Regions from separate parts of the Homo sapiens genome. Here all the other regions are linked to region 3. Evidence: promoter capture Hi-C in human tissues and cell types (Jung and others, 2019). All regions are on one chromosome and are shown on one strand. The core of a region is centred on a gene start or on the middle of the fragment in contact, and the rest is flanking DNA. Distances in the headings are between cores, read along the strand shown.

Region 1 (2,913 bases), core at 229-2,728, 620 kb after region 3:
ACTTTGAGAATCTAGGATAGGGGCACTATTTAATCAAAACTGGCAAGTAAAAAGAAAGAGAACTATTTTAAACAAGACAAATACAAGAGGTGTTGAACCAAACTCAAATTAGAAAGAACAAAATTTCCCAAAAATAAGAATATTATAATTCATTTGATGAAAGGAATTTGCCATATTATCCCTTTTACTGGCATTTTTTTAGTACCTTTACTTGTAAAAATGTCAGGCCCTCCCACTTTTCTGGGATAGACTTATCGAATGAAGCAAGGGGAGCTTCTCTATGGATAGATGATCACTTTTGCAAGCTTTGAGATCAGTGAGCTGAAAAAATGACCAGCATTCCAACAACAAATGAGGGCTTGGGAGCGTAAGTAAAAGTGACAGCAAGATTAAAGTAATTGTGGTCATGCCGTCCTCTGCTGACACTTTTGTGTTTTGCCCAGATGAGAATTAAGGTAGCCCAGGGCACAGGCAGTGAGGAAAAGGAGAGGGGCGCTGAGCGTATTTGCAGCATTTGTGAACCATGTCACAGCCCTGGCGAAAACAGAGCAAGAAGATGGAGGCTTTCAAATCCATGATAAATAAGCCATGCTTTCAGAGCCCAAATCAGTAAAAACAAACATTAAGTGAACAGAAGGGAAGAGGGAAAAAAAGAGAACATGAGGCCACCATAAAATCCTGGTGATATATTCCAGGGGAAATCATGATGTGAATAGAAAATGAGAAGTAAAAGAAAATGAAGCCTGGAGATTTGTAAAATGTCTGTCTGTCTGTCTGTCTCTCTCGACTGTCATTCCCATCTACCCCTGCCACCCCCACCCCGCCCTCCACCCTTCTGATGGGGTTCATTAGATGATTTCTGATTCAGGGGTGGGGGGCGGTATTTTTAATGCTTCACTTATGTTTGGGTTTTGCCAGCAGGATCCGAGGTGTTTCTGTAGACAATTGTTATTGCTTTAGGAAACAATAAGAATAAAATGAGGAAACATCAAGTGATACATCAGTCTAGCAGCAGAGTGAGGCTCGAAGTAGCATTTCCAGCGAGGTTGGTGGTCTCTTTTTGCCTTATTTTTGTTGTTTTGGATTGATGTTTTCATGGTGTCATTTTAATAAGAAAAGTGTCAGAGAATTAAAAGTGGAAGTATGCGAGATACACTTTCTCTAACTGGATTCATGGTAAGTTATTAATGTTTCAAGGAGAAAGAAAAGAACTTGGAAAAAGCAGAATATATTGTGGGGAAAGTTGATGAAGGGAAAGGTAAGAGAACTGTGACAAATGAGACACAGACAGAAGGAGAGAGAGAGAAAGAGGAAGAGAGAGAGACAGGGTGGTGGGGGGGACCGGCAGAAGAAAAGGAAAAGAGCGACAGTTTGTAAGTCTATTAGCTGAGATTGTTTCCATTTCTGCAATTGCCTTAAAGCGCATGATTGCTTGGTCTGAGGTCTGCCAGGTCGATTGCAGTCTTTACCTCTTTGACCAAGAAGTAATGGGCTTGAATTTCCTGGGTATGTGAAAATTGCTCTTGAATGTTTTGGCTAAAGGACAGCCACCCAGGAAGGTTGAGAGGGCCTAAGCTAGTGAGCAGTCATCCTGACCAAGTAGGAGGGATTTGGTTATGTTGCTCGTAGCAGGAGAGGCAGAGCAGCAAAGTGAAGAGAACACACAGCCTTAGGTGCCAACAGACATGTACTGAAATCTCTTGCCTCCATTTCCCACCTCTAAAATGCAAAGGATGATAGTAACAATAATAAATGTTGCAACGGGTGACCGATTATAAAGTTCTTGTCACCTGATAGACCATATCAATCCATGGTAACTTATTCTTAGCTGGTTCACGTTTCTAGGCATTGGCACAGTCTGGGTGGTGTGTGTCCCCTCAAAGGTAGCATCACAGTGACTGAGCTCTGCATAGATGGCAAAGTGTAGAAGCCTGGTCAGTTTTCTGTTTCTCCATCCACCATTTCTCCCCACTTCCCCTTGGTTAGTGCTGTCTTCTCTCTTTCCTCACTGAATTGTCTTGATTAGTGTCATACTTTCTGATAACACTGCAGCTAGGACTCCACAGGCAATAGGGAGAAGCTAGCGCCTGCCCAGGGAAAGTGAGGAAAAATAGGTGCTTGAGAGGCTGAAAAGTAGTATACGCTTGGTGGCCTTACACTTTGTAGAAACAGTTTTGGATTTGTCTCTACAAGAAAGGATTGTAGATAACCAGAATGCAAAAATGCTTTGAAGAAAGAGACATTGAGCATTGGAACCAAGTATTCTACGTCCTCTTCCCTGCAACACTGGGGACTAAGGATTATTATCTGCATTTCTGGTGAAGAAACTGAGGCACAGAGAAGATAAACTATGGTTCTCCGGCTACAAAGTAAGCAGCAGAGCCTAGAGTTTGAAGCCAGGTCTGACACCTAAGTCCCGTAGTAAACCTCCCACTGAGGTAGGCAAGCCTCGCCTTGCAGAGAGTGGCAAATTAGGGAAAAAAGAATCAAATGTGCTTGAGTTTAACAGAACATATACATTATACTTAAAGAGAAAGATACTTTTCTTACAAAAAGTTTGAGGACAAATGAGACTTCATGTGATGCGTCTTGCACTAAAAAAAAAAAGTTAGATTATATAAGCCAGACTGGCGTTGATTAAAGAAGAGCAAGGTAATAAATACGCATAAGAAGAAGGAAGTGGCTGGCTCTACCTTGGGCATCACCCAAGTTACAGGCAGGGGAGGGGATAGGCCCTGCATGGGGACAGTCTCCTGACTTGTCTTCTTCCTTCTCTACTTCCCTCCCTTCACTACCCCTCCCTCCAAAACCCAAAAAACCTTAAGCAGGAAAAAAGGGAGCTAATTAAAAAAGAGAAAAACATCCTTGAGACCAATGAAGTCTCCATAATCCACAGTGACAGACAGGGACCTG
Region 2 (2,934 bases), core at 256-2,755, 680 kb after region 3:
TAAGTGCTCTCCCATCTAAGGACACAATCTGTCTATATGTACTTAAGAGTGGAGCATTACCAGGAGTGAAGCTTTCCAGTTCCCAAGAGGGGTAAAGGACAAGTGAGGTGATGGACACCTTGCTGCTCACCACTCCCAATCTTTGGGCTGACACAGGATGCCAGAACTGATTATTGTAAAAAAAAAAATAATAATAACAATAATGTGCAGACATTTGAAAATCTAACTCTCATTTTTTCCAGAGCATGAAAGGAAGGCCTAGAAATGGTAAGTGACCTTTTCAAATCCCCTGGGGTGAAAACCAGGTCCCCAATAACCTGTCGTTTCACAAGAAAAGGAGAAAGGGTAAAGGCGGCCGTGATGTCAGCGAAAGACCTCCAAGACAGAAAACCTTGCAGTCCCCGTGCTCTGCCTCTTTCACGGGAGACCTGGGCAACGCACACGTTGCTAGGCCTCAATTTCTTCAACTGTAAAATGAGGGGGTTGGAGGAGCTTGAAAAGCTCCTTCCAGCTCTGAGATGCTGCGCTATAAAGTGAGAGAAATGTGAACCTTTAGTTGTTATGATCTGAAAATATTTTGAATGTGGAGAATCAAATTGTAGAGCAGTGCATGAACAACATAATATGTTAATGACTAAGACGATTGTATTTAATCCGATGGGAAACAGCAGAGCTGCTGCCACCGCTGCTGTGTGTGTGCGTGTGTGTGGTGTGCACGCACGTGCGGTTTCCTTCCTTGAGCTCAAACATACATTTTGAATCACTAATATAGTAATCATGTCTCTGGCAGCCTATCTTGCCCAAACACACACGGAGAGACACCACACACCCTACTTCAAATTAAGGTGGGGGCGGGGGGAATTCCACTGCTGCTCTTTACATCATTTCTGTTTGGATAGCTATTTTTTAAAAGAAAGTTTTACAGTGAAGGTGTTGGACTCCCAGCCCAGAAGGGCTCTGATCTCAGAACTGGGACGCAAGGGTGGGGAGCTCGAGCTCTCATTAGCATTTCGCTTTTGCACACCCCCTGCCCGCTCCTCAGCCGTCACAATCCCGTCCTGCAGCAGGCCCCCCCACCAACACCGGACCCTCGACGGGGAAGGGGTCAGCTCGGCGGCCCCAGAGGCCACTGGGCCAGAACACGTGCTCCGGACTCCACGTGCGCGGAAAATGAACTCGTACCCGCGACGCGGCCGGCGGGGGCGGATGGCAGCGAGGGCCGGACAGCGAACCTTTACCCCGCGGAGGAGTCGGGGCCGGAGCCCGCACGTGGGTCTGCGACGGCCCCGCCCCCTGGGGGCGTCCCCTCAGGGACTCTAGCCCCGGCTGGTGGGCCCTGCAGGCCCGGGCCCGACCGCGTCCGCCAGGCCGCCCGGAGGTCCCGGCGAGCCCGGCGGAGGCGGCGGCCCCTCCCCGCCCGACGGCCACGCCCGCGCGGATTGGCCGCTCCCCGACGGCGGGGCGGGGCGGGACGGGCCGGGGCAGAGCTCGCGGCCAGGTGAGGCGCCCCGCCCCTCGGCGGCTCCAGGTGCGGCTGTGGGACCTCGGACCGCGGCGGGGCCGGGGCCAGGGCCGGGGCCGGGGCCGGGGCGCCATGGCCGAGTCCCAGCTGAACTGCCTGGACGAGGCGCACGTGAACGAGAAGGTGACCGAGGCGCAGGCCGCCTTCTACTACTGCGAGCGGCGGCGGGCCGCGCTGGAGGCGCTGCTGGGCGGCGGCGAGCAGGCCTACCGCGAGCGGCTCAAGGAGGAGCAGCTGCGGGACTTCCTCTCCAGCCCGGAGCGCCAGGCCCTGCGGGCCGCCTGGAGCCCCTACGAGGACGCCGTCCCCGCCGCCAACGCCCGGGGCAAGAGCAAGGCCAAGGCCAAGGCCCCCGCGCCGGCGCCGGCTGAGTCCGGCGAGTCCCTGGCCTACTGGCCCGACCGTTCCGACACCGAGGTGCCTCCTCTGGACCTGGGCTGGACGGACACTGGTTTCTACCGCGGCGTGAGCCGGGTCACGCTCTTCACCCACCCGCCCAAGGACGAGAAGGCGCCGCACCTCAAGCAGGTGGTCAGGCAGATGATCCAACAGGCCCAGAAGGTAGGCCCCCGCCTTCGCCCCCACACCGCTGGGACCTCGGCCCCAGTCCCCTGGACCGGGCCCCACCTCCCAGGCAGGGCCCGGGGCAGGCCGCCCTGAGCACCCTCTGGAAAATGGGCCCCAACCCGCCCCTACTTCCTGGGGCTGCAGTGAGGCCTGTAGAGCGAATGGCTGGGAACGTGTTTGGCAAATTACAAGGTGCTGGACAGATGTCAGCCGTCGGTATTCCAGCGTTCAGAGGCACTGGCTCTGCTCTGTACTTCTGAAACTTCCCTGTCCAGCCTTCCTCCCCAGGGAAGACTGGGGGCCGAGGCCCTGTGGTTAAAATGCACCACTCAAAGGTCTTGATGATAACCTACGTGCTGCCCAGAACATATCCCGAGCCGCTTTCTCATGTGATCGTCAAAACAACTTCAGGGAGTGGGTGGCGGTGACCTTCCCGGTCCCACCTCTGCCATGCTGCTCCTTGGACCACCCCTCTCCTCCCATAGTCAAAGCTGAGCTGGCGCCCTCACAGTCACAGCCTCTCCTGGGCCGGGTACTAGGCCCCAGCTGCCTGGAATGAATGGGGGACGGGGTATATTGAGGACCTACTGTGTGCCTGGCCCTGTGCTGGGCGCCTTGGCACAGCAGGTCACCTGACTCGGCAGCTCAGGAAAGGGCTCCTACTTAGCATATGTGTCCTGCTTGAGAGTTGGAAGGAGGGGCTGTTTCCAGGGTGGCTGGTGAGGCCAGTCCACTGTGGAACAGGTGGAAGACTTTAATCTTTATGCCTTTGGGTGGGAGTCCTGGGCAGCTTCCAGATCAAATGTAGGATGCCCCACTACATTTGAACTTTCAATAAACAACAC
Region 3 (2,972 bases), core at 435-2,934:
GCTCAGAGATTAGTCAGTATCAACTGCCTAACATTAATGTCTCCATGGCTCAGCAACCAGTGCTGTTAGACATCTCTAAGTAGAACACACACAGGTAAGTGGCCATTATTCAAGCTTTCAGGTGAAAAAAACATGAATGAGGCAGTTCTTATGCCAGCCTCAGCAGCTCCAACCCCCCACACTAGTGTTAACTTCTCTTTGCTAAGGTTCCTGGCAAATTTACTATGCTCTGAAATCAATACCCCACACCGCACCTAAAGCAAACAGTGCTGACCATCTGTAGCCTTGGAATATTAGTTTTCAAGTTAAGCATTCCCATTCTGCTGTCGCAGCAGTTCTGACAACGTGTAACTCCTGCTTAAAAAAAAAAGTCTGCCCTCTGCTAACAGCTTGACTCCATCTCTACAATTTCCCTCCCCCTCCACTCCTATTCCCCCAACTTTTAGGATGTCTGTACATACTGGATCCCGGCCTGTCGACTTCCCGCACGATGTGAGTCATGCCAGCCTTGTATCCCAGGAAGGCTGTGAGGTGGACCGGCTTGGACGGGTCATCCTTAGGGAAGCTCTTCACCTTCCCACGATGCCTGCTGCTGCGCTTCCGAGGCAGGAAGCCGAGGGACCCATGTCTGGGAGCGGAGAACTTTCTGTGAGACTAGGTGGGAAAAAAATCACCGTCAGCACCCAAACCAAAGCAGTGCCCCCTTCTCTAGTTCCCAGCTGCTTAAGTTCCAAATCTCAGCAATACTGAAGAATCCTGACCAGACACCCAGCAAGCCGAATAAAAAGGTCATTATCTCTTCCAGGCTCGCACGTGTCAAGAATGCTTTTGTATTCGACAAAATTTAAGCTGAATCTTATTTCAAATCCTCTCAACCTGTAAGAAAACGACCCATTTTTTTTATCTAACCACACAAAAATACACTAAGTAGTGGCACTAAAAACTGCTTAACAGGCAGCTTTATATGCCAATTAGCAAGGTTTTGACCGCTAAAGAAAGGGACTCCCGGGACAAACGCTGGGTAGCAGCTAGCAATGTTAAGCTATAGGCTGCCTCCGGTGCCCGGACACTAATTACACTGATACACACAGGCCAAAGAACTCCGCAGAGCCAAATCAGAACGTGACAATCAGCACACAGTTTCTGTCCGCCCGTCAATAAGTTCATCATCTGTGGTTTCTGCGAGCTCCAGAGGCCTTCGGAGTGCACCAGCGGCCCCAGATATTCAGGAGGACTCCACAACACTCCCCTCCCCCAAGCTTCTTTACCTCCCAATGAGAACGGCGCCGAGAACCTCCACCCAAGGTCCTTCTACCCAGACAAGCAGGTTATGGGCCCTAATCCCAACTAATGATAGAATTGGTGAGGTCGAAACTTAGAAATGACTCATGGCTTTAAAAACGCCGGGCCTCCAAGCCTGCTCCCACCCTTACGGCCTCTCTCTGGCCGACCTGCAGGCCCAAAGCCAGTCCTCCAAGCGCTCTTCACAAGCCTCTCGACTTTCCAGAAAATAGGCCAGACTGAAGTCCCCGCTGGGTCGCCCGTGCCCCTAAAGCAAACCCCCGGCGCCGGCCAAGACGGGATGGCGGCGATGCGTCGCGGATTCAGCCGTGCCGACGCCGGTGACAATGAAACGGCCGCCATTACAACACATACCATCACGCCATCAAATCCCGCCGGTAGAGGCCGGTCGGCCTTACGGGTCCGCTATATAAAGCCAAATCTGGCCCCGCCCCTTCCGGCGTGCGAGCGCGCCCCCGCGGCAGACGACAGGTCGGGGGCACGTACCGAGCGCCATTTCCACGCACGCTCTTCCGCTCCTAGCTTTCGTTCAGAAGTTGACGTCAGCTTCGGAGACAGAAATTACACACTCTACGGCGAGGGGTCGGGTTCAAACTTAGTGAAAAGCCGCGGAGAGGTGGGCTAAGGGTGGGTGAGCCACAAATCTACGGCGTCCGGCAGCAGCCAAATTTGATAATAACGAAGAAAAATGGCTGCGTCGCTTCTCCTCCTGTGATATGCAGCTATCTCTGGAATTAGCGAAGAAAGACTGAAACTCTCGTTTCCTGGCTCCCACGCTGGTTTTGCGGCGACACCAATTTACCTTTAATACCTTTAATCTCGGGCATCCCTCCCTCAAGCCCTATCTCTGCCATTTCTCCCATGCTAATGCAGTGGCCCGCGCTTGATTCTGAGGGTCAGGAGCGTCCCAAGCCTGCGGAACGGCCTCACGACCTCTGGTCATGCCGAGTCCAGCTGCTCAGCCTCCCGGAGCCCCACGCCTTCCAGACCTATGCATCAGCGAGGGCTTTCGCTGATCTCTGCCTAGGCTCCAGGGTGACTCGGATCCTGACCGATTCCCTGCTTCCAGGCTGGTCCCTTACAAATCTCTTTTTTGAGACGGAGTCTCGCTCTGTCGCAGTGGCGCGATCTCAGCTCACTGCAAGCTCCGCCTACCGGTTCCCAGTTCAAGCAGTTCTCCTGCCTCAGCCTCCCGAGTAGCTGGGATTACAGGAATGCGCCACCATGCCTGGCTAATTTTTTTTTTTTTTTTTTTTGTATTTTTAGTGGAGACGGTGTTTCACCATGTTGGCCAGGCTGGTCTTGAACTCCTGATCTCGTGATCCGCCCGCCTCGGCCTCCCAAAGTGCTGGGATTACAGGTGTGAGCCACCGCGCCTGGCCCCCTACAAATCTTTCTAAGAATCAAGTATCTCGTTACTTTCCATGGCCGCCTCGTTGTTTCCTCGGAATTAAGCATCAACTTCAGCGGCCACCAAAGACGCTCCCCTAACCGTCTACTTCAGCCTCATGGCTGCGCCAGAGCACACGCTCTCATATCACCTGCTTCCTCTGTCCCACCCTGTCATCTTCTTTAATTCTGGGCCTGGCCTTTGCTCCCACCGTCGTTTGAAAAGCATTCTCTCGGCCAGGCGCGGTGGCTCACGCCTGTAATCCCAACACTTTGGGAGA
Region 4 (2,706 bases), core at 66-2,565, 750 kb after region 3:
AGCCCAATGTTAGTTTACATATAATTGTTTTCACAATTTTATTTTTGGTTTATTCACTGCTAATATGTAGAAATACAATGGATTTTAATACATTAATCTTGTATCCTGAAAACTTGCTGAACTCATTTATTAGTTGTGATAGTTTTTCATTGGATTCCTTAGGATTTTCTTTATACAGGATCATGTCATCTGCAAATAGGGATAGTTTAAATTCTTCCTTTTAAGTCTAGATGCTCTTTGTTTCATTTTCTGCCTAATTGTCCTCCAGTACAATGTTGGCCAAAAGTGGCAAGCCTGGATATTTATCTTGTTTTTGGTCTCAGGGGGACCACTATGATCTTCAGTCATTTGCCACTAAGTATGATGTTAGCTGATTTTTTTTTTTTTAAGATGGCCTTTATCGGGTTAAGGAAGTTCCTTTTTACTCCTAGTTTTGGGTGCATTTTTATTAAGAAAGGGTATTGAATTTTGTTAAATGCTTTTGCTGCTTCTATTGAGATGATCATCTAGTTTTTGTTATTTATTCTACTGATGTGGTATATTACATTGATTTTTGTATATTAAGCTAACTTTGCATTCCTGGGATAAATCCCACATGGTGATGGTGTATAATCCTTTTTTTTTTTTTTTTCTTTTTGAGACAGGGTCTCACTCTGTCGCCAGGTGGAAGTGTAGTGGCACGATCTCGGCTCACTGCAACCTCTGGCTCCTGGGTTCAAGCAATTCTCCTGCCTCAGCCTCCCGAGTAGCTGGGATTATAGGCATGTGCCACCACACCCGACTAATTTTTGTATTTTTAGTAGAGACAGGGTTTCACCATGTTGGCCAGGCTGGTCTTGAACTCCTGACCTCAGGTGATCTGCCCACCTCGGCCTTCCAAAGTGCTGGGATTACAGGCGTGAGCCACTGCACCTAGCCTATAATCCTTTTTTATAGATTGCTATATTTAACTTGCTAGTATATTTTGTTAAGGATTTTCACATCTATGTTCATAAGAGATAATGGTCTATAGCATTGTTTTTGTATGTGTGTGTTTTTTCTTGTGTCTTTTTCTAATGAGGGTAATACTGGTCTCATAGAATGAATTGGGAAGTGTTCCCTTCGTTTTTGGAGGGTGGGGGTGGAGGGAGGGTTTGTAAATAATTGATATTAATTTTTCTTTAAATATTTGATAGAATTCCCCAGTGAGCTCTGTTGCCTAGGCTGGAGTGGATCTTAGCCCACTGTAACCTTGAACTCCTAGGCTCAAGTGATCGTCCTGCCTCAGCCTTCTGAGTAGCTAAGACTACAGGTGTGTACCACCACACCCAGCTAATTATTTTGTTTTTGTGGAGGTAGGGTTTTGCTATTTTGCCCAGGCTGGTCTTGAACTCCTGGCGTCAAGCAACCCTCCCACCTTGTCCTCCCAAATCGTTACAACTACAGCCACCTCTCCTGGCACTGGGGTTTGCTTTATAGGAATTTTTTTTATTATGAATTTAGTTTATTATAGGCCTATTCAGATTTTCTGTTTCTTACAAAGTCAGTTTTGGTAGTTTGTGTCTTTCTAGGAATTTGTCTATTTCATCTAGGTTTTCTAATTTGTTGGCATACAGTTCATGTCTGGTGATTTTTATTGGATGCTAAACTTTGTAAGTTTTATATTATTGGATGGTGGATCTTTGTGTATCTCTGTAAATATTATTGAGCTTTGTTCTGGATCGACGCTGTTTGATCCATTTGGGTGTTGCTTTTAAGCTCTGTTAGATGGAAGCAGAACAGTACTTTGGATTAATGTTCTTCACTACTGAAGCAACTGAATCTTCTGAGTCTTCTACTTAGTGCCCCACGAATGATGGTTTTTACTCTGTCTGGTGAGATTAGGCACAATTCCTGGCCCCGTGTGAGTTCCAAAGATTGTTTCTTCTAATCATTTTGGGTAGTTATTTCCCCAGCTTAGGGCAGTTTTCTCACATAAACGTGCTGTTTTTGAACTCAGCTGAATACTCAGAGGGTCTCCTACAGATCTCTGGAGTTCTTTCTCTGTGCAGCTCTTTTCTCTCTTGGTACTACTGTATGCTGCAAATTCTGATTCCTTGGCCTTTTCAGAATCTAGCTCTGGCTCCTCAAGTAAAGGTATTCCTCTGAGTTCCCCCTGGGTTTCCCTCCCTGTTCTGTGACTGGGAAACTTTCCCTAGGCAGCAAGCTAGGCCAGTCATAGGCCACCTTCTTCATTTGCCGTGTCTCAGGGATCACATCACTGTCCCATGCTGCCTGTGGCCAGTATCTTAAAAACTGTTTTATATATTTCATCCAGTTTCTTAGTTGTTTCAGGTATGAGGATAAATATTGCTCTCGTTACTTCACCTTTTCTGGAAGCGGAAGTCTTGCCTTTTCTTAAAATATCAGGAATTCTTTAGGGGTTGCTTCCAGAGTATGAGATATTCTTTGGAATTTCCGTAGGGGGAATATCTTCCTTCTTTCAGGATGGATTTGATTTTGAGGAGCAACCAGGAGTATGTTTTCAGGTCTGGATATGTGATTTCTCATCTGGGTAATACTGTTTGAGGTCCAAAATGAGCTCAGTGTAATAAGGCAGCTTTCCTTGTGTGATTTGTAAACTAGTTTGGAAACAAAATAAGAGTTGCAAAGTATTTTCATTGGTAACCTGATTAAGATAAGGATAAAACTTCTTAGGGGTGTGTATCTTGAAAAATAACTTTAGTT

What was found. Contacts are between HindIII fragments. The study calls those that stand out against the background at their distance.
Region 1: a contact is called between a fragment that was not itself captured here and the fragment with the promoter of RPL3 in region 3, in 1 of the 25 tissues and cell types used here (spleen).
Region 2: the fragment with the promoter of FAM83F here is called in contact with the fragment with the promoter of RPL3 in region 3 in 2 of the 25 tissues and cell types used here (heart left ventricle and mesenchymal stem cells).
Region 4: a fragment that was not itself captured here is called in contact with the fragment with the promoter of RPL3 in region 3 in 1 of the 25 tissues and cell types used here (lymphoblastoid cells).

What each region holds. Positions count from the first base shown.
Region 1 is chr22:39,935,386-39,938,298 of GRCh38, forward strand. The region is part of intron 1 of GRAP2 (GRB2 related adaptor protein 2); the gene reads left to right. Among named protein-coding and RNA genes, the nearest start is that of TMA7B, 24 kb to the right of the region's middle. The HindIII fragment of the contact is 9,705 bases long and covers 1-2,913 here.
Region 2 is chr22:39,993,449-39,996,382 of GRCh38, forward strand. It overlaps FAM83F (family with sequence similarity 83 member F), which reads left to right and starts at 1,506. Exons shown (of 5, transcript NM_138435.4): 1 at 1,506-2,083. The coding sequence starts at 1,595. It overlaps LOC124905155, which reads left to right. Exons shown (of 2, transcript XM_047441700.1): 2 at 900-1,320. The coding sequence ends at 1,320. RefSeq lists an enhancer at 1,221-1,854 and a silencer at 1,429-1,548. The HindIII fragment of the contact is 11,866 bases long and covers 1-2,934 here.
Region 3 is chr22:39,317,939-39,320,910 of GRCh38, forward strand. RPL3 (ribosomal protein L3) reads right to left here and starts at 1,685. Exons shown (of 10, transcript NM_000967.4): 1 at 1,657-1,685; 2 at 462-654. The coding sequence starts at 1,659. It overlaps SNORD43 (small nucleolar RNA, C/D box 43), which reads right to left and starts at 1,175; the gene lies at 1,114-1,175. RefSeq lists enhancers at 674-1,563, 1,430-1,479, 1,564-2,453, 1,870-2,289, 2,454-2,972. The HindIII fragment of the contact is 19,716 bases long and covers 687-2,972 here.
Region 4 is chr22:40,063,999-40,066,704 of GRCh38, forward strand. It overlaps a transcript of TNRC6B not described here. Among named protein-coding and RNA genes, the nearest start is that of TNRC6B-DT, 21 kb to the left of the region's middle. The HindIII fragment of the contact is 3,031 bases long and covers 1-2,706 here.